7 separate regions of the Homo sapiens genome follow, and regions 1, 2, 3, 4, 6 and 7 are each linked to region 5. Evidence: promoter capture Hi-C in 16 types of primary human blood cells and fetal thymus (Javierre and others, 2016). All regions are on one chromosome and are shown on one strand. Each heading gives the region's core, a stretch centred on a gene start or on the middle of the fragment in contact. The rest is flanking DNA. Distances are from core to core; before and after follow the strand shown.

Region 1 (2,700 bases), core at 99-2,598, 450 kb before region 5:
GTGCATAATATGCATCGCGGAGGCCCTGTAGATTTAGATAGCGATTATAACCGATTCAAGTCAGGAAATTTCTTCTGAAGTATACCTACCTGTGAAACCCTCCATATCTGGGGCGCTCTGTGCCACGGGTGTCAGACTTTTGCAAAAGCCCTGTCATTCTAACGGGACGCCCTCCTGTAGGAAGTTGCCCCCTGGCGCCCGTCCTCCGGCTTCTGATGAAACGGCGACCCACCACCCCCTTCCCAGACCCTGGCCCGCAGCCGGATCACTCCGGGCGCGCTGCCGATCACGTGGCGAAGCGGTGCTCCCCAGCGCCGTGGCTGCGCGCCCATTGGTCGGCGGCTGGAGTCCCGGGCGCGCCCATTGGCTGCGGGGGGCGTTCACGTGGCAGGGGGCCTGGGATGGACCCCGGGGTCCCGAGAGCTGGCAGGAAAGTTAAAGGGGGCAGCGCGGCCGCGGGGAGCTCGAGTCCCGGGTGACTGCTGGAGGGAGGAGGTGACCGCGCAGCTCTCGTGCACGGACGGACTTCGCCGCCCGCGGGGGGCGCGAACCCGAGCCCGGGCCCAGCTCCTGCCGTCACGGCAGCTGTCCCTGTTCCCCCAGGGCGTATGCTGCCGCGGGCTGGCGCGTCTGCCCTCGGGACTTATGAGCTGAACCCGGTACGTAGCTCCCCAAGTCTCGAGTCCGAGGGAAGGGCTGGGGACAACAAGGCGAGGGCGTGCAGCGGGGACCTCTTTGGGTTCCTGTCACCTACATTTTCACCGTGCGACTTGCACTGGCACACCGGGGCTGGAACACTCTAGGTAGCTGGCCCCAGGGAGCTGTTGCTTCAGCGTGGAGAGGGCGATCCAGGGACCGCAGCTGGGAAGCGCCTCCCGGGCCCACGTGCTCCACCGCGCTGCTGGGCCCGGCTGCGACCGTGACCCGGGAGCTGCGGCTGCGGCGGCTGATCCCTTTACCACCTGTTGTTCTGGCTTCGAAACTAGCACAAGTTCCCAGCCCCGGGTCCCGAGAGGTCTGGAGACTTCTCCAAAGTTGGGTAGTGGGGTTTGGAGCTTAAGGACAAGCCGCTTCGTCTCTCTCCGGGCCTTATTTTCCCTATAAAACGCGAGGAAATACACTTGGTAGGCTCTCAGGCCACCGAGGGCGACGGGACCTAGCACGATCCCCGTCCCGGGCTGGCGGAGGCCAGGCGGCCGCGCGGGGGTGCTGGTGTCGCGCTGCTTGCTCCGGCCGGGGTTGCCCCTTTGCCGGCCCCGCCCGGGTGCGATAACGGGCTCCTCCTCCTCGTCGTCTTCCTCCCACCGCCGACATCTCCGGGAACCCAGCCCAGGCCCTGCCTCCCGGACACACCGACGCTCACGTAGTCGCGCTTGCCACAACCCTGCGGGCTCTCCGATGCGGCGAGCGAGCTGGGGAGGGGGCTTCTCCGCGGCCCAAAAGGTGGGTGCGGCGCGAGGCCAAGGAGGCTTGTAGGGAGGTTGGGGGCGGAGTGCAGCCCTGGTCAAACTGGACGGAGGGGACAGAGTCGGAGAGTAACTTGTGGGATCCTCCAGCCTGGAGAGCACTGGCCTGCTCCTGCGTCTCTTTGGAATCCAGAAAAAGGGGTGTGGAAGGCACAGTAGCTGCAAAAGAGGGAGTGGGGGCCGGTAATGACTTACTGGAAGATTTGGGGCCTGTCAGAGCACTGTTTTCTGAAAAAGAGGAGAAAACAGAGGAAAGACTGGACTTGGGAACTTGGAGACTTGGAAGGTGTTGGAACCTGTGGTCTGAGTGGCGGGGGCCTGCCTGGGAGACCCAGGGTGCAGCAGAAGAGACAATTAGAGCTTTGGTCTGGGAGGAAGAGGAGGAGAGGAGGAAATGTTTCCTTGGGCAGAGTTGTCCAGGAGCCAAAACTAAAGTGAAGACAGCTGGAGGACTTACACAAAAGTACAGTTGAGGTATTTAGGAAAAAAAGTTAGTGGGAAGAGAAGCGGCACCAGGGGTGGGTCGCAACATACAATGTCAGGGCCAGCAGGGACCTTGGAGGGGACCTCAAGCCCAGAGCAGCTGAGTGACTCGCTCAAGTAGCAAAGCAAGGTGCGGGCATTCTTAGCCTAGTACTCTGTTTTCCCTCGTACGTTTTTAGACGGCAGGGGCTGTGTCATTTGAACTTGCCTCTTTCCTAGAATATGCAACTGTATTCACAAATGTCAGTCTCCAAGATGCTTTGGATGATGGGGACAGGATCAAGGGGTACAAGGAGCCTTTAAGGCTGTGAATAGGCCCCCATGGTCTGAGTACAAAGGGGAAAGACATGCACTCTCTTCATGCTGGATCAGTGAAACCTTTTGGAAGGGAACACAGAATTGTTGGAGGGAGGTAGATGGCCATGTCTTTAAAAATGAAAATTATAACCTGGTTGTGAATGTTTACTGAATGCAGTTCGGCAGCTTTCAGTGTTCCTGGTGGGTTGCTTGTGCATCTGATTTTTTTGTTTGTTTGGTTTTGTTTGTTTGTTTTGAGACGGAGTGTCGCTCTGTCGCCCAGGCTGGAGTGCAGTGGCGCCATCTCTGGCTCATTGTAAGCTCCGCCTCCCGGGTTCACGCCATTCTCCTGCCTCGGCCTCCTGAGTAGCTGGGACTACAGGCGCCCGCCACCACGCCCAGCTAATTTTTATTTGTATTTTTAGTAGAGACGGGGTTTCACCGTGTTAGCCAG
Region 2 (2,700 bases), core at 141-2,640, 390 kb after region 5:
TAGTGTTTAAGGAAGAGCAAGGTTGTGCTACTCTGTGCCTTGGCTTTTCTGTGCCTCCAGTGTGGTCATTTCTTTCCATGACTTTAGAGAGCTGCAATGTAAGCAACAAGGACTCCACTCATTGAAATAGTTCATGGAACTTGGAGTCAGCTCTTGAACAATAGAAGCCTGATGCTGTTAGTCTTGGCTGAGTACAACATGAGTCATGTGCTGTTTCAAGTACCCAACTGAACATGGGTAGAAAGAAGGGGCTCCCTGGGTGACAGCCAGTGGAACAATTCCATGTGGAGATAGGGTTGGGGGAATGAGGTGGGGTGGGGGCTGCGCTCCCAGCACAGGAAGCAGACAAGGGTGCAGATCAGCCTGCCTTCCCGGTCAGTGCCGACTGTGCCCTGCAGCCGGGGTTGGCAGACACCTCCCAACTATGAGTCACACATTTGATCACAGCGTTCATCCTGCAGACAGGCCTCACTGGAACCAGCTGCTGGGCCCTGGCCTATTACCCAACTACCCCCTTTGTTTCATCTCTGAAAAGGCAACAGTTCATTGGAGAAAGAGTCAAAATGAAGAAAACCAAGGGCAATGTTAAATGGCTATGGCAGTCATTCATTCTTTTGGTAGGATATTCACTTCTATTTTTTTTTTTCTGAGATAGAGCCTTGCTCCATTGCCCAGATGGAGTGCAGTGGTATGATCATAGCTCACTGCAGCCTTGACTTCCTGGGCTCAAGTGATCCTCCGACTTCAGCCTTCCAAGTAGCTGGGGCTGCATGTTCATGCCACCATACCAGACTAATTTTTTGTAGACATGGGGGTCTCACTAAGTTGCCCAGGCTGGTCCAGAACTCCTGGTTTCAAGCCATCCTCCCACCTCCATCACCCAAAGTGCTGGGATTGGAGGTGTGAGCCACCACATCCAGCCCAAGATAACCATTTCTAAACAACACCTGTCACAGGTGCTCTCATAAAACGGCTTTTCACTGGGGCACAGGCCTCTGGTAGCAGTTTGATGGAGGGTTGGAATCATGACCTTCAGTTGGACAGGCCTGGTGAGGTCTGGAGTGTTTCCCTTGTGGTAACTCTAAAGTTATTGGGAAGGAAAGGAAATAATGCAGGAGACAGACAGTGAATATTCCTGCAGAGATGTTAAGAGCATAATACAAGCCCTGATAATGGCCACAGCTGGGCTCTGCGGGGTATCTGTGTTTCTGTAAATGGACACTACTCAGTTTAGCAAACGGAAAGTGGCATTACATCCGGGTCCTCTGTCTCATTTTCATTCACAGATCCCTGTGGGCTGAGCACTGAGGAAGGAATTCATTAATGCCGCTGACCTGTCATTCAAAGACTCCCTGGGTTGCTTGAACAGAAGATTTTAGTTTGGTGTCTGATGACAATGTTGGAAAACTATGAATGACAGAATAAGAGTGTCTTTGTTTACTTGACTTCTCTGCTCCAAGATTTAAAGTCTTGTTATTTGAAATATTATTTTACCTTCTTAAAACATTCCTCTGATATATGGAGAAATCTAGAAAGATAATCTCTATTTTAAGAGAAAATTAAGGTGTGGAAAAGTGAAATGATAAGTGAAGTGTAAATTCAGGACTAGAGTCTAGGCTGCATGCCTTCCATTCTCTACTAAGTACACTGTACCTCCATGTGTATACCCCAGTGTTTACTGGCTACCCATCAGCATCTTGCCCGTCCTTCAGTTTTTTTTTTTTTTTTTTTTGGGATGGAGTCTCACTCTGCTGCCCAGGCTGGAGTGCAGTGGCATGAACTCAACTCACTGCAGCGGCATGATCTCAACTCACTGCAGCCTCCGTCTCCCGGCTTCAAGCAATTCTCCTGCTTCAGCCTCCCGAGTAGCTGGAATTATAGGTACCCACCACCACGACCGGTTAATTTTTGTATTTTTAGTAGAGATGGGGTTTTGCCATGTTAGCCAGGCTGGTCTCGAACTCCTGACCTCAGGTGATCCGCCCACCTTGGCCTCCCAAAGTGCTGAGATTACAGGCATGACCCGCCACACCCAGCCAGTCCTTCAATGTTTGGCTCAAGGCACACCTAATTCAAGAACATAGAGAGTAGAAGGATGGTTACCAGAGGCTGGGAAGGGTGGCAAGGGGCTCAATGCAGGGAGGTGACGATGGCTAACGGGTGCAAAGAAATAGCCAGAAAGAATAAAATCTACTATTTGATAGTATAACAGGTGACTATAGTCAATAATAACTTCATTGTACATTTGAAAATAGGGAGTGTCACTGGATTGTTTGTAACTTTAAGGATAAATGCTTGAGGGGATGGATACCTCATTTTCCATGATGTGCTTATTTCACATTGCACATAATATTTATCTCATGTACCCAATAAATATATACACTTACTATGTAGTCCCCAAAATTAAAAGCAATAAAAAAGAATAACTAATAAAAATAAAAATAAAAAAGTCCTCCCCTGCTTATGAAAGCTAGTGTCCCTTTCTCCTCTGCAATTATCCACTACTGCATCTCTCCGAACCTGGGAGGCAGGCAGTTTTTTAAAAATCTGAACATAAGTATATTCTTTGTCACTGAGTAGACTGTAGGACCATTGAGAGCAGTGACAATGTCCTACACGGCTTGCTCCCTCATTCCCTTGCCCCCTGCGTTGTATGCAGTAGGTGTTTAATAAATGTGTTGAGAACATTTATGATGATGC
Region 3 (2,700 bases), core at 16-2,515, 370 kb after region 5:
GAAAAGCATTATTCCAAACAGTAGCCACCGTTTGCTCTTTTCTATGTAATTTGTGTGTGTGTGTGTGTGTGTGTGCGCACGCGTGCAGGCACGCATTTGTTTGGATTGTTGGAGGGATGCATGAAACACTACTGACAGTGGTTTCCTCTGATGAGAGAGCTGAGTATGAGGGACAGGGTAGGAGGAAGACTTAGTTGTCAATCTATACCTTTTCTGCATTTTGATTTTTTCCATTGTGCATATATTGTCTATTAGAGAAATAGAAAAGAAGTAACATAAAATTAATTGCTCTGACCAAATAAATAAATAAATAAAGGGAAACAAGTCTGCAGGACCCTGGAATTGAGTGGCACTGGCCTTGGTCTTATGGTTTCTGTCTCTCCTCTTCAGGTCCCTCGTCTGAGCTGGCTCACTCGCCCACCAACAGCGGGAAGAAGCTCTTTGCTCCCGTTCCGTTTCCTTCAGGCTCCACTGAGGACGTGTCCCCCAGTGGCCCCCAGCAGCCCCCTCCACTCCCCCAGAAAAAGATAGTGAGCCGGGCAGCCTCTTCACCGGATGGCTTCTTCTGGACCCAAGGCTCCCCCAAGCCCGGAACAGCAAGCCCCAAGCTGAACCTAAGCCACTCGGAAACCAACGTCCACGACGAATCTCACTTTAGCTATTCGTTGAGCCCCGGGAACCGCCACCATCCTGTCTTCTCCTCTTCCGATCCTCTGGAGAAAGCTTTCAAAGGCAGTGGCCACTGGCTTCCGGCAGCAGGGCTGGCGGGCAACAGAGGCGGCTGCGGGAGCCCTGGCCTCCAGTGCAAAGGGGCCCCCTCCGCCTCATCCTCCCAGCTGAGCGTGTCCAGTCAAGCCTCCACCGGGAGCACCCAGCTTCAGCTGCACGGTCTCCTGAGCAACATCAGCAGCAAGGAGGGCACCTATGCCAAGCTGGGGGGACTCTACACCCAGTCCCTGGCCCGCCTTGTAGCCAAATGTGAGGACCTCTTCATGGGCGGCCAGAAAAAGGAGCTCCACTTCAATGAGAATAACTGGTCGCTCTTCAAGCTGACTTGTAACAAGCCCTGCTGTGACTCGGGGGATGCCATTTATTACTGTGCCACCTGCTCTGAGGACCCCGGCAGCACCTATGCTGTGAAAGTAGGTACCACTCCCTCCTTGCATTCTGCTGTGCCACTGGCTGGTGCTGGCTTGGGCAGAACTGTGGCCTGAGCAAGTCATTTCACCTGTCTGGGCATTAGGAGGGGAGTTGATTCCTAAGCATTCTTTTTTTTCTTGTAAGATAAGAGTCTCACTTTGTTGCCCAGGCTGGAGTGCAGTGGCACAATCTTGGCTCACTACAGCCTCCGCCTCCCATTTTAAAGCGATTCTCCTGCCTCATCCTCCTGAGTAGCTGGGATTATCTGTGTGCACCACGGTACCCAGCTAATTTTTGTATTTTTAGTAGAAATGGGGTTTTGCCATATTGGCCCGGCTGGTCTTGAACTCCTGACCTCAGATGATCCACCCACCTCGGCCTCCCAAAATGCTGGGATTACAGGTGTGAGCCACCACCCCTGACCCCTAAGCATTCTTTTAACACTTAGTGCTCAGCAGCTTCACTCTCTCTCTGCCCCAGGACATGGTGCAATGAGATTTGTAGTATGAATATAAGACACATTCTGTGCTTTAGCTGAGTTAAGAAAACAGTTGCCTTTTAGTGCAACGGAGAGTTTATTCATTTATTGACCAGGTTTTTATTGAGTGTCTACTATAGGCCAGGTACTTTGCCACAATCTGAGTATGTAGGTGTGAATATAAGCTTCCTTATAGAGCTATGATGTAGTGAGGGAGATGGATAATGAGGTCATTCTTCTAATGTTAGATCCAGAAGGAGCATTCGACCTAGGAATCATCTTGAACAATAATAGTAATAATATCATTTGTGTGAGCATTCACTCTACAACTAGACTCTTACCTCTAATCCTAACAGTAATCCTACAGGTTAGGTAGGTTTTACAGATGGAGGATCTGAGGCTCAAAGTGGTTAAGTAATTTGCCCATAGCTAGTTGGTGGCTGGAATGGATTTGAGCTCTTCTGTGTCTGTCTCCAAAGCCTAAGTTATGTCCCTACCATTTAAGATAAATGAAGTTCAGAGACATTAAGTGACTAGCTCAAGGCAGCACAGCTCTTTAACCTTTGATGCTGGATCAGGCCTCTTGCTACCCACACTGTATTGCACTGTCAGAGTGCAGCTCTGTGTGAGCTAGTTGAGCCATCTGCACCCATTTGGGCCACTGGAGTCTCTACCATGAACTCCAGTCCTTCCTGTGGCCCTATTTGTCATCTTCTTTTGCTGTTCCTTGATTACCTATTGAGACCCTGGCCCTTCTATAAATGTGGGCTTTTATTGGGAGTCAGGAGGGAGACCCTGAGCTATCTTCTCTCATCACCTGCCCTAAGACATCGCTTTTTTTTCCAGTTAGAAAAGTGCAAAGAATAAGCTAATTTGAAATGGCCTTGGTGGGGTAGCTTGCTTACCAACAATTTTTTAAAATAATATTGCTAACATTTTAAAAATAATATTAAACAATATTTAAGTAATATTATTATTACTATTAATATTCAGTATATATAAATAATATATAGTAGTTGTAATTAATAGTAGTAATAATACTAATATTCAATATATATTATTTATAATTATTTATTATTTAT
Region 4 (2,700 bases), core at 169-2,668, 440 kb after region 5:
ACGATCTTGGCAACCCCCGCCTCCCGAGTTCAAGTGATTCTCCTGCTTCAGCCTCCCGAGTAACTGGTATTACAGGCACATGCCTCCATGCTTGGCTAACTTTTGTCTTTTTAGTAGAGACAGAGTTTCGCTGTGTTGGCCAGGCTGGTCTTGAACTCCTGACTTCAAGTAATCCACCTGCCTCGGCCTTCCAAAGTGCTGGGATTACAGGCATGAGCCACCACACCTGGCCTATAGCAGCTATATTCTTATTCCTACTATCCGTTTCATGTCCGTATGTTGTTTTGGATGTACTGAATAGAGGAAATTCACATTCATCCAGAAGTAGGCTAAGGGGAACTGCAGTTCAAGGGCATGTCCCTCAAGCAAAGCAAAACGCCCAAGACATGACGGGTGCCCAGTGAATACTTCCTCAATGTGCAAAAGAGAAGTAGGTTGCAGGAAGGGAGTTCCTGATCAGGTGCCTGTTTCCAGAAGTGGCCACTTGTGTGGCAGCTGGCAGTGATGAAGAGCCCTTTGGCTGGAACTGGTCCCAATCTCAGCCCCTTCACTTGCTGCTTAGTTCTGGAGCCACTTAAGAGAATCTGTGCCGCCTTTATCCACTCAAGGCATAGAGAGCTCTCAGCCTCTCTCCCTTCCTTTTTTGCCAGGGAGGATGCCCTCTCTGATACAGGCACAAGATCAGCACTGTCTCCTTCCGTAATCAGCCTGTTTCTTTTTCATTCCTCTGCCCACTTTAATACAACCAATACAGCTGTTTTGTTACCTTTGCCATTTTATTCCCAAAGTTGCAGCTTATATTGGGTGAACCTTCCCAAAGGAGATAATTTCATTAATGTCCATTTCATTCATTTTAAATTCATTCATTTAAAATTCAATTTCATTAATTTCCATTATGGAAGCTTAGGTGATGAACAAAAATCAATGGACTTACTTTATAGCCTCATGGGTTAGTAGTCTCTGAAGGGTGATTTTGTTTGATTAAGCTCAGCTGATGATATGAATTCCAAGCAGCAAATGATCACTGAGTACCTGTTTTGTGGAAGGAAGGCATTGGTGTACACACGTGGAGGCTGTGGACTTCATATGTTGTACTTGGTTTCAGCCTTTACTGAAACAAGTGCGGACACTAAATGGCAATGGGGTCCGTTTAGCTGACTGGATATTAGCTGCTCAGGCTATTTTTACAAGGACCGTTCTAGCCACATCACCACATGTAGTGCCCTGTGACGCAAAATGACTCCATTGATGGAAATGCTTTTCTCCTCTTCCTCTGCCTTTTGCCAAGGCTAAGGGAGCTGAAGGAGACGTTAGGTAAAGGGACCGAAGAAAATGTAACAGACAGCAGCTCTAAACAGACTGGCCTCTAGGAGACTTGCTAAGAGGAGGTCCTTCTGGGCTGAGTCAAAGCTCCCATTATTTTGGAGGTTTTCTGGAATCTTCTGCTTTGTCTGTCATTCTCCCCTCCCTCAGGGTCCATAGCAGTGTACACATTACCTTTTCAAAAGCCACTTATCACTTTGCATGGCCACTGTGAATGTACATGTCTCTCACACATATTGTGAACTCCTCGAGGGAAGGAACTCTGCCCTGGACGTGTTTGTAACCCCTGTCCCTAGCTTGGTAGATACAACAGGCCTTGCTTAAATAGTATTTTAACAAAGAGCCCTGTGTCCTGTACAGTTCTAAGACAAAGAAGAAAGCAGTTACAGTCTTGTGGAAAAGGTGGGAAAATGTGGGAAGATGGTAAAATCTGTTCCCTGATTCTTCTGGTGCCTGCTGGTACCTTCTCTGGGCTGACAAACAACTGCCATCTCTGGTAAGGAAGGGTTGCTGTCCTGCTGCCAGGCACACAGATGCTGAGGCATACTGCTGCCCTGAGCTTTCCGTCTTTCTAACTTAATAATCCTCAACATTTTGGAGAGAAAGCTTTTGATTTCCTTCAAGGTGTACAGGGAAATTTTACCAAGATAGATCATATTCTGGGCCATCAATTACGTTTCAATGAATATGAAAAGATTAAAATCCTACAAAGCGTGGTCTCTGATCACAATGGAAATAAAGTAGATATAAATAAAAGATATTTAGAAAATCCCCAAGCATTTGGAAACCAAGTAATACAATTAAAATATCCCAAAAAGATATAGTAAATAGTTGAAAAAGAAAATTTATGAGATGCAGTTAAAACAATGTTTAAGGGAAATTAAGCACCAAACACCTATATTAGAAATGGAGAAACATCTTACTCAATATCTTCAGCCTCCATTTGAAGAAAGAAGTAAAAGAAGAGCAAAGTAAACCCAAAGTAAGCAGAAGAAAGGCAATAATGAAGAATATAAATCAATGAGATAGAAAACAATAAAACAATGAGGAAAAATCAATAAAACCAAAAGCTGTTTTGTTAAGGAGAAAAATTAAAATGAGAACCTGTAGCCAGTCTTATTAGGAAATAAGAGAAAAGACACAAATTACTAATGTCAAGAATAAGAGAGGTAACATCACTATGGATTCTATACATCCTAAAGGGATAATAAAAGAATGTTCTGGCTGGGTGTGGTGGCTCATGCCTGTAATGCCAGCACTTTGGGATTCTGAGGTGGGTGAATCACTTGAGCTCAGGAATTCAAGACCAGCCTGGCCAATATGGTGAAATCCTGTCTCTAATGAAAATACAAAAATTAGCTGGGCATGGTGTTGCAT
Region 5 (2,700 bases), core at 185-2,684:
AGGGGCAAGTGTCCGGGTTCCAACTCGAAGCCAGGCGGGCCTGTGCGGGGGTGAGTCCTTTGCCACCCGGCGCCCCCCAGGCTCTACAAGCGTCTAGAGGTCGGAGTCGCAGGGCAGCGAGCTGTCGCAGGGGTGGGTGCTGCACGAGGGAGCGTCCTGGGACTCCCACCCCTCCCCGTCGAGGACGTCCACCGAGTTGGTGTAGGCCTTGGGCCGCGGCCGCGGCATGGGGAAGCCGACCTTGGGCTTGGGCTTGGGCTTGCGGTGCTGGGCAGGCGGCGGTCGGTGCTGGCCGTCGCTGTAGTACTTGATGGCGGGCGCCAGGTCGGGCTCGGGCCACTCCACTTGGATGGTGCTGACGCTGCTGCGGCGAGGCCCGGCGGAGGGTCCCTTGCGGCGGCGGCGACAACGCTCGTCGCACCAGGGCGCGAAGCTGAGCGCCAGCGAGAAGCCGCCCAGCAGCAGGAGGCAGCTGCCCAGGTAGCCCAGGACCAGGCTGTAGCTGACCTGCACCGTGACCGGGCTGGCCGGGGCGGGCAGCACGTCGCGGTCCCCCAAGAAGTGGTTGTACCAGGACACCGGGATGAGGCCGAGGAGGCCAGCGACGAAGAGCACGACGCCCGAGAGCCCTGCCAGCACGAAGTTGGGCTCGTCCTGCCAGCAGCGCACGCCCAGCGACGCCAGCAGAAGCCCCAGGACCGTGGCGGCCAGCGAGGTGACCATGAGTGCCCGCGCCACCAGCACGGGCTGGGCCTCGAAGTAGCCCCACTGGTCCGTCTGGCCGCACTCGCGCTCGCGGCTGCTCTGCTCGCGACACATGTCCCACAGGCCCTGGTACAACTCCACGTCCACTGGCTGGTTCAGGAAGCCCTTCACCAGCCGCCAGCCGGGCGCCAGGGTGCCGGTCAGGTTGAGCAGGAGCCCGCAGGGCGCCAACACCATGCCCAGCGTCATCACCACCGGCGTCCGCATCCCGGCCCGCCGCGCCGACGGCGCCCCTGCAGCCTGCCTTCCTTCTCCGCTGTCGCCTTCTCCGCCGTCGTCTTCTCCCTGCCGTGCCCCAGGCTCCGGGGACCCGAAGTCAGCGCGGACGCCCCGGGCTCCGGGTCGGGCTCCTGAGCCCTGATCGCTCCAGGGACGCTCTTTGTCTCCTGCACGGGGACCGTCCCCACTTAGGCTAGTTCCCTCCTGGCGTCCCGGCCGCTCCGCCCTCCTACTGGCCCTAATCGAAACCAGCCCGCGGGCGGGTCTGACCGAAACCGCGGGTCCGGGCGCGGGCGCCCAGGGGCGGCTGCCGCGGCCAAACCTGGCCCGGGAGGGAGGGACCCGAGGTGAGCGCAGGAAGCGGCGGGGCCACCTCGCCCGCGGCAGGTGAGATGGGGATCCGAGCGGCGGGGACACCCCACCTTGCAGCCGGGCGGCTGGGCCACGCCTGGCCTGGACTGCTCACGGCCGGAGCAAAGGTCGCCCCGCCCCTGGGTCCTCGCGCCGCCCCGCCGGGCCAGGCGGGCGGTGGGCGGGGAGGGAAAGAGGCGGCGCTGGCGGGACGCGGTGGCTGCGCAGCTTCCCTGCTGCTCAGCGGATCTCGGTTCCTAGAATTTGTTTCCGGTCCCTGCCCGTCGACCCTGCGCTTATAGCTTAGCCCTTTACTCCCAGAGGGTTCCAGATCGCCCCCTGGTTTGCTCTGCAACTTGCAGCCACTCGCAGAGAAGTGGGCGGTGCCGAGCGCTCCCGGGGATTGGAGGTGCGCTGGGTGAGTGTGCAGAAGCCCACCCAGTCCAGGAGCGTGTCCCAGAACGTTGCACCGGATTATTTCCTTAATAAAGGCTCCACACTCTGGATTAAATTCGTCTCTAAAGAATCTGTGCCAGTGTACTTCTGGGCAGAAGGGTTACACAAGGATTTTACTTTCCTTTTTCAGCCTTGTGAGACTTTCAAGGGGACTAGAAAGAGGGACCAGTGTTCCCGGATGTCCTGCTTAGCGTTTTTTGCAGGTTTATTTAATTTTACAGTGTACTGTGGCCTTTCTCGTCTGTAGGTTATTTTACAACTCTATAAATTATAGAAAGCCTGTAGTATTGCAAATGACTTTTGCCAACATCAAGGCTAATGAGTTCGTCCCAGTGGAATGATTATTGTCCAATGGATACTGACCAGTATGGCATTGATTTGTAAATTCATTTTAGCATTCCTGTTTGTCTGTATATGTGTGTCCTTTTGTTCTTTGCTTTTTTTTTTTCCTTTTTCTTTTATTTATTTATTTATTTATTTATTTATTTATTTATTTTAAACAGGGTTGGGGAGTTTCGCTGTGTTGCCCAGGCTGGTTGCAAACTCCTGGGCTCAGGTGAGTCTCCCGCCTCAGCCTCTGGAGTAGCTAGGACTGCAGGCAAGTGGCCAGCTTCTTTGGTTTTAACATCATACTGGTTTCCTTATTCAATAATGAGTTAAATAACCTCTTTCACACATATTCATTTTATATTTGTGTGAAAGTCACGATGTTTACATTTTTTCTAAAAATTATCCTTTAATAACACTTTTTTGTATTTTCTAGATTTTTACAATGAAAACGTATTGCCTTTATAATTGTTTAAAATTAAAACTATTTTTAAAATTCAAGTTAATTTAGCATTGGTTTGAAATAATTTTGAATATTCCAGAGTGGACAACACTAGGAATGACAGTGACTGCTTTTTTTAA
Region 6 (2,700 bases), core at 29-2,528, 410 kb after region 5:
CTTTGGCAAACAGCAGTCTATTTCCACGAAAACCCAAGTGACTCCCGGGGAAGAAAAATACACACATAAGTAAAACTTGTCCCAAGGGGAAAGAGGAGCAGGCCGGCCCATGTCTTCCAAGACTGAAGAGTCAGTTATCCGGGAGAAGAATGGCTGTGTTTGTCTTTCAGATCTTTCCCTGGTCCAGCCTAGTGGACTCATGCCTGAATCTTATTTTAAATAGAGTAGGGGCTGGGTGCGGTGGTTCACACCTGTAATCCCAGCACTTTGGGAGGCTGAGGCAGGTGGATCACTTAACGTGAGGAGTTCGAGACCAGCCTGGGGAACATGGTGAAACCCCATCTCTACTAAAAATACAAAAATTAGCCAGGTGTGGTGGTGGGAGCCTATAATCCCAGCTACTCAGGAGGCTGAGGTGGCAGAATGAATCGCTTGAACCTGGGAGGTGGAAGTTGCAGTGAGCCGAGATCGTACCACCATACTCCAGCCTGGGCGATAGAGGGAGACTCTGTCTCAAAAAAAAAAAAAAAAAAAAAAAAAAAGAGTAGAGGTAATCATATAATTAAAAGTGAAAATGCCTGTTTCTCAAAACCTTTGGGTATAAGCTTTATACCCAAACTTCTGGACCAGTTTAATGGAGTACAGCCCTCAAAGGGAGGCAAGAATTCTCTCCCACTTTTCCAAGGAATATTATGCAGTTCAGCATCTCCTCCCCAACCCTGAGGTTCCAGTACCTCAGCATCTGCTGTATGGGCTCTAGGGTGTCTGCAGTGAAAGCAGCTAATTGGAGGCAGTGATGTCAAGCAGGGCCAGAGAGGGTGGCAGGGGCTGCAGCACCAGCAGCCAGGCGATGCTCAGCCTGAGCATGGCCAATGCACCCTGTGTAGCATCCAGGAGAGGCAGCACATCCCTACCAGAGCCATGGTACAAAATACAAGCCACCTGGGTATCTGGAAGCGAGGGTGGGGCTTGGTAATAATTACTAAAGCATGCAGCACAGCAACAGCCAAAGAGAAGAAAGGGAAAAAAGTGAAATATGTAATCTTATTCACAAATAAATATAAGAACAAATTCCACTGAATCCCTGAAAACAAAATGTGGGGCGAGGGCAGTAAACGCAACTGACTACTGTAAATGCAACCTCACCTTAAAAGATTACCAACTAGCTAAGCATGGTGGCCCACGCCTGTAATTCAAGCACTTGGAGGCTGAGGTGGGTGGATCATTTGAGGTCAGGAGTACGAGACCAGCCTGGTCAACATGGTGAAACCCCTGTCTCTACTAAAAATACAAAAGTTAGCCAGGTGTGCTGGTGTACATCTGTAATCCCAGCTACTCAGGAGGCTGAGACAGATGAATCGCCGGAATCCGGGAGGCAGAGTTTGCAGTGAGCTGAGATTTGACTATTGCACTCCAGTCTGGGTGACAGAGTGAGATCCCATTTCAAAAAAAAAAAAACAAAAATTACCAACTACTAGCCTTATGGAGCAATATTTAAGTTGTTTTTATTTTGACTTAGACTTTAGGGCTAAATCTATGTTTTAATGAAGAAAAAATGTGTTCATAAATAATTATTTTCCTCAGAAGAAAAACATATTTTCTTTTATCACGTTGCCAGCCCAAAGGAGAGCTCATGTTTAAAAAATCACAGTGTTAGTTTATGACCAGCCTGGGCAACACAGCAAGATCCTGGCTCTACCAGAAAAAAAATTTTTTTTTAATTAGCCAAATGCAGTGGCACATGCCTGTAGCCCCCACTACTCCTCAGGAAGCTGAGGTGGAAGGATCACTTGAACCCAGGAGTCCAAGGCTGCAGTGAGCTATGATCATGCTACTGCACTCCAGCCTGGAAGACAAAGCGAAAACAACAATAACAACGACAACAGCAACAAAAAGCAAAAATCACAGCGTGTCTTAGGACTCATGTTCACTTTCATTTTTTTAAAGCTTTGCTAATTACTGATTAATCTTTTCTATTCCCTGTTGCTTAAACAATATTAGAATGTTTCTGTGCACAAAATCCAAGACTCAAAAACACAAAATAAAATTTGATGGCTTTTAAGTAAAAATTTGTTACTCAACTTATTTTTACCGCGATTTAGATTCATTGTGATGTTGGAGGTATGACCTTATCTATTCATCTGAATGACATTTTGTTTCAACAAAAGGGCAGTGCTCTCAATGTCAAATAATAAGATAGAAATCTTTAATCCCTTTAGTCCTTCTGTATACCTAGGTCATTTTATTTTAGAGTGTATGTGTACAGAGAGTATACTCAACTAACCCTCATAGTGATTACACTGGTTGTACCTAATGCAACAAATACTATTCAACTTTAACAAAATAAGAATTTTATACTGTCTGGCTTATTCTTAATTCTTCCCTAAGGGCCTATTTGGTTTAGCATCAAATACAAGATTAAGAGACTCTAAACGTTAGCTGAACAGCCACTCAAGGGATTTAGACATGATCTCTTTACACAAAAGAGTTAGCATACATCTGATATCCCCTGCACAGAGAACACATGTTTATACATATAATAAATCTCCTTTTCCTACCGATGATTATTTATTTGAAAGCAAAATGAAAAACAACCTTATCGTATCCTCAAAAAAAATCTACGCCGGTAGTGAAAAATTTGGGGCAAGGTAAATGTCTATTAATTTACACTGAACAAAGCAAAAAAAGTAGATGAAGATT
Region 7 (2,700 bases), core at 30-2,529, 460 kb after region 5:
GATTTAAAATCACAGTGGAATATTCCAAGTGAACAATACCTCACTTTAAGAAGTGCATTTAGAAATGAGATTGTAAAATGTTTCTTACCAGACTTAAAGTCTGCGTTGATATTAATGCCTGACAGGTATCATGAGGCATATTTGACCCCGACTTCCCGGCAATGCCTGAAATAGTCTCTCAGGTTAAATTTTAAAACAGTCTTGGCTGAGGAGGAAGTCTATTCAGATGGTTGGGGGGGCCTTAGAATTTTATTTTTGCTTTACAGACCTGACACCTAATGAATGTGTGAATAGAAAACACCTAGATGCTCAGAAGAATGGGTAGTGAAATATTCGTATTCATATACCAATCAGAGAGTTTTGGCTGATCACAGGCTGCCAACTGTTCAAACCACATTCAAATAAGGTAAATGCTGAGCTGTAACCAATCTGTCTGCTTCTGTACCTCACTGCCTTTTCTGTACATCATTTTCCTTTTTCTCTTCATCAATTTTCTCTGACTACGCAGCAGCGCAGAGCTGCTCTGAACCTATTTTGTTTCTGTGTCTAATTTTTGAGTCTGATTTGTGAATCATTCTTTGCTCAGTTAAATTCTGTTAAATTAGGCCAGGTGCAGTGGCTCACACCTATAATCCTAGCACTTTAGGCACTGAGGCAGGCGGATCACTTGAGGTCAGGAGTTCAAGACCAGCCTGGGCAACATGGCAAAACCCCGTCTCTACTAAAAGTACAAGAATCAGCCAGGCATGGTGGTGAGCACCTGTAATCCCAGTCACGTGGGAGGCTGAGGCAGGAGAATCACTTGAACCCGGGAGGCGAGGTTGCAGTGAGCTGAGATTGCACCAAGGCCTTCCAGCCTGGGCGACAGAGTAAGACCCTGTCTCAAAAAATAAAGAAAGAAATAAAAATAAATTGACGAAGGATTGAGCATGCAAAATAGAATCAGCTTTTGACCCTGAATACCCTGCAGTGAGAATTCCCCTGTGGTTCTCAGGCTTCTGTAATTCCAGCAATACACTCTTCCTTCAGGTTCACTAAAATGCAGATATTGTAAGATAATGCTCATTTCTCACAGCTTGCTTCAATAATAATGATCATCATAGTAATTTACAACTTAATAGTCAACACTGCCTTTTTAACCCAGTCTGTGAGACTGAACCATAAACGTGACATTCTTTGAAGTAAAGCTCTCAATTAATATACCAGACTGCATAAACTCCAATAACTTACCTTTCCACGGAAAGAGAATAGGTGGGTATTCTCTCTGAAGACAAATGGTGGAGAGTAGACTCTCATCAAAGACCCTCTGGCAGTAATAAGTTGCATTCCAGAAGGTTCCAGAAGGTTCTGTGGAAGGCTGCAGTTTGGGATTGGTTCTCAGATGTCTGTCTAACTGCTTTCTAAGGATGAGGACTCCTGGTTTGTGCTTTAGCTACACCCACAGGAGCAACAGACTAAGACATTCCTCCACACAATAACAGAACCAGGGAGTGCAGACCATGTGGGTCTTACCTGGCCTGTTGTCCACCGTCTGGTTTTATCTTAGACCGAGCCTGCTGCAATCCATGTTGTGTATTGGCACTCCACTTAAGTTTCCTGTTTGTAAAAAGCCCCTTTCATTCGGTGATTCCTCAGGGCTTTAGGGGAACTTTCTGGAAACCAGGCAGAAGGAAATAATGGTGGTTTTGCTGAGGATGGGTGACGTTGGGCACGGGACCCAAATGAGTGGTTTGAGCAGAAAGTAGCCTCCACGCTGGACTAATGCAATAGTCCTGCCATGATTTCATTGCAGGGCTGTGACCGTCTACGACAAGCTGGCATCTTTCTTTAAAGAGGCACCTCTGGACCTGCAGCACCGGCTCCTCATGAAGGTGGGCAGCACGCACTCTCTGTTCAGGGCCTGGTAGGCCTCCCATCCTCAGCTGCCTTCTCTCCTGCTCGCCACTGCCCTGGCCTCTCCCCTTCTCACTGCAGACCTGGGAACCCACTCATCCAGGGGTTGGCAAACTAAGGCTACAGGCCAGTCTCCTGCTTTTGTAAATCAAGTTTCATTGGGACACAACACACTCATTAACTTCTGAGTTGTCTATAGCCGCCTTTGAGCTACAATAGCAGAATTGCGTTTTGCAACAGAGAACGTCTGGCCTGCAAAGCCTGAAGTATTTACTCTCTGGCCCCTTAAGAAATGTTTGTGGACCCCTGCACTGTCTTACTCTCCTGCCAATGGGTTCCCAGGCCTGTGGCAGGATCTGTGGACCTGTGTGTCCCCTGGGGTGTCTCATGGGGCTAAGGAAGGGACCTTTGTGCAGGTCCACATACCCTGAGGTGTGCCCCTGGGTAAGCTGGGGTGGTGTGGGAGGGCATCCTAGCACCCTCATCTTGAGTCCAGGGGATGATAAGACAGTAAGTCCCGTGGAGAAAAGGAATGAGTCAGTCTTGTTTGCTGTTGTAACCTTAGCACCCAGAAACAATATTAGAGAAAGCAAGCCCATGCCTCGATTGGCAGGGGTGGCCTGGTGCTGCTGATGCGGCTGGGCACCCCAACTGTTGGGAGCCTGCAGGCCTTGCCATGGCAGGAGATGCCCGTTCTGGGTCCTGGGCCTGCTCTGTGGCCTCTCACAGGGTTTTTTTCTCCTCCTTCAGCTCAGAACCTGAGGACCCAGCCATGGAGCGGTCAGCCTTCATGGAGCAGGATGCTGG

Evidence for each region. Contacts are between HindIII fragments. The CHiCAGO score rates a contact against its expected background, and 5 or more counts as called.
Region 1: the fragment with the promoter of PPP1R3B here is called in contact with the fragment with the promoter of CLDN23 in region 5 in 1 of 17 cell types (fetal thymus); the score reaches 5.6 in fetal thymus.
Region 2: a contact is called between a fragment that was not itself captured here and the fragment with the promoter of CLDN23 in region 5, in 6 of 17 cell types (naive CD4 T cells, M0 macrophages, monocytes and 3 more). The highest score is 8.1, in naive CD4 T cells.
Region 3: a contact is called between a fragment that was not itself captured here and the fragment with the promoter of CLDN23 in region 5, in 2 of 17 cell types (M0 macrophages and total B cells). The highest score is 7.1, in M0 macrophages.
Region 4: a contact is called between a fragment that was not itself captured here and the fragment with the promoter of CLDN23 in region 5, in 16 of 17 cell types (naive CD4 T cells, naive B cells, total B cells and 13 more). The highest score is 27.7, in naive CD4 T cells.
Region 6: a fragment that was not itself captured here is called in contact with the fragment with the promoter of CLDN23 in region 5 in 12 of 17 cell types (total B cells, naive CD4 T cells, M0 macrophages and 9 more); the score reaches 10.3 in total B cells.
Region 7: a fragment that was not itself captured here is called in contact with the fragment with the promoter of CLDN23 in region 5 in 5 of 17 cell types (M1 macrophages, M2 macrophages, total B cells and 2 more); the score reaches 8.2 in M1 macrophages.

What each region holds. Positions count from the first base shown.
Region 1 is chr8:9,149,306-9,152,005 of GRCh38, reverse strand. PPP1R3B (protein phosphatase 1 regulatory subunit 3B) reads left to right here and starts at 1,348. Exons shown (of 2, transcript NM_024607.4): 1 at 1,348-1,443. It overlaps PPP1R3B-DT (PPP1R3B divergent transcript), which reads right to left and starts at 281. Exons shown (of 5, transcript NR_183348.1): 1 at 90-281. RefSeq lists silencers at 344-593, 1,094-1,363 and enhancers at 714-953, 1,000-1,948. The HindIII fragment of the contact is 22,346 bases long and covers 1-2,700 here.
Region 2 is chr8:8,308,400-8,311,099 of GRCh38, reverse strand. No RefSeq gene overlaps it. Among named protein-coding and RNA genes, the nearest start is that of PRAG1, 77 kb to the left of the region's middle. The HindIII fragment of the contact is 7,345 bases long and covers 1-2,700 here.
Region 3 is chr8:8,326,152-8,328,851 of GRCh38, reverse strand. PRAG1 (PEAK1 related, kinase-activating pseudokinase 1) reads left to right here. Exons shown (of 6, transcript NM_001080826.3): 5 at 391-1,142. Among named protein-coding and RNA genes, the nearest start is that of PRAG1, 59 kb to the left of the region's middle. The HindIII fragment of the contact is 1,080 bases long and covers 726-1,805 here.
Region 4 is chr8:8,258,653-8,261,352 of GRCh38, reverse strand. No RefSeq gene overlaps it. Among named protein-coding and RNA genes, the nearest start is that of FAM85B, 32 kb to the right of the region's middle. The HindIII fragment of the contact is 1,027 bases long and covers 905-1,931 here.
Region 5 is chr8:8,700,671-8,703,370 of GRCh38, reverse strand. It overlaps CLDN23 (claudin 23), which reads right to left and starts at 1,434. Exons shown (of 1, transcript NM_194284.3): 1 at 1-1,434. The coding sequence starts at 972. The coding sequence ends at 94. RefSeq lists an enhancer at 641-1,608 and a silencer at 1,082-1,701. The HindIII fragment of the contact is 12,864 bases long and covers 1-2,700 here.
Region 6 is chr8:8,289,958-8,292,657 of GRCh38, reverse strand. No RefSeq gene overlaps it. Among named protein-coding and RNA genes, the nearest start is that of FAM85B, 64 kb to the right of the region's middle. The HindIII fragment of the contact is 1,342 bases long and covers 608-1,949 here.
Region 7 is chr8:8,240,493-8,243,192 of GRCh38, reverse strand. It overlaps the pseudogene FAM86B3P and the pseudogene ALG1L13P. Among named protein-coding and RNA genes, the nearest start is that of FAM85B, 14 kb to the right of the region's middle. The HindIII fragment of the contact is 5,273 bases long and covers 1-2,700 here.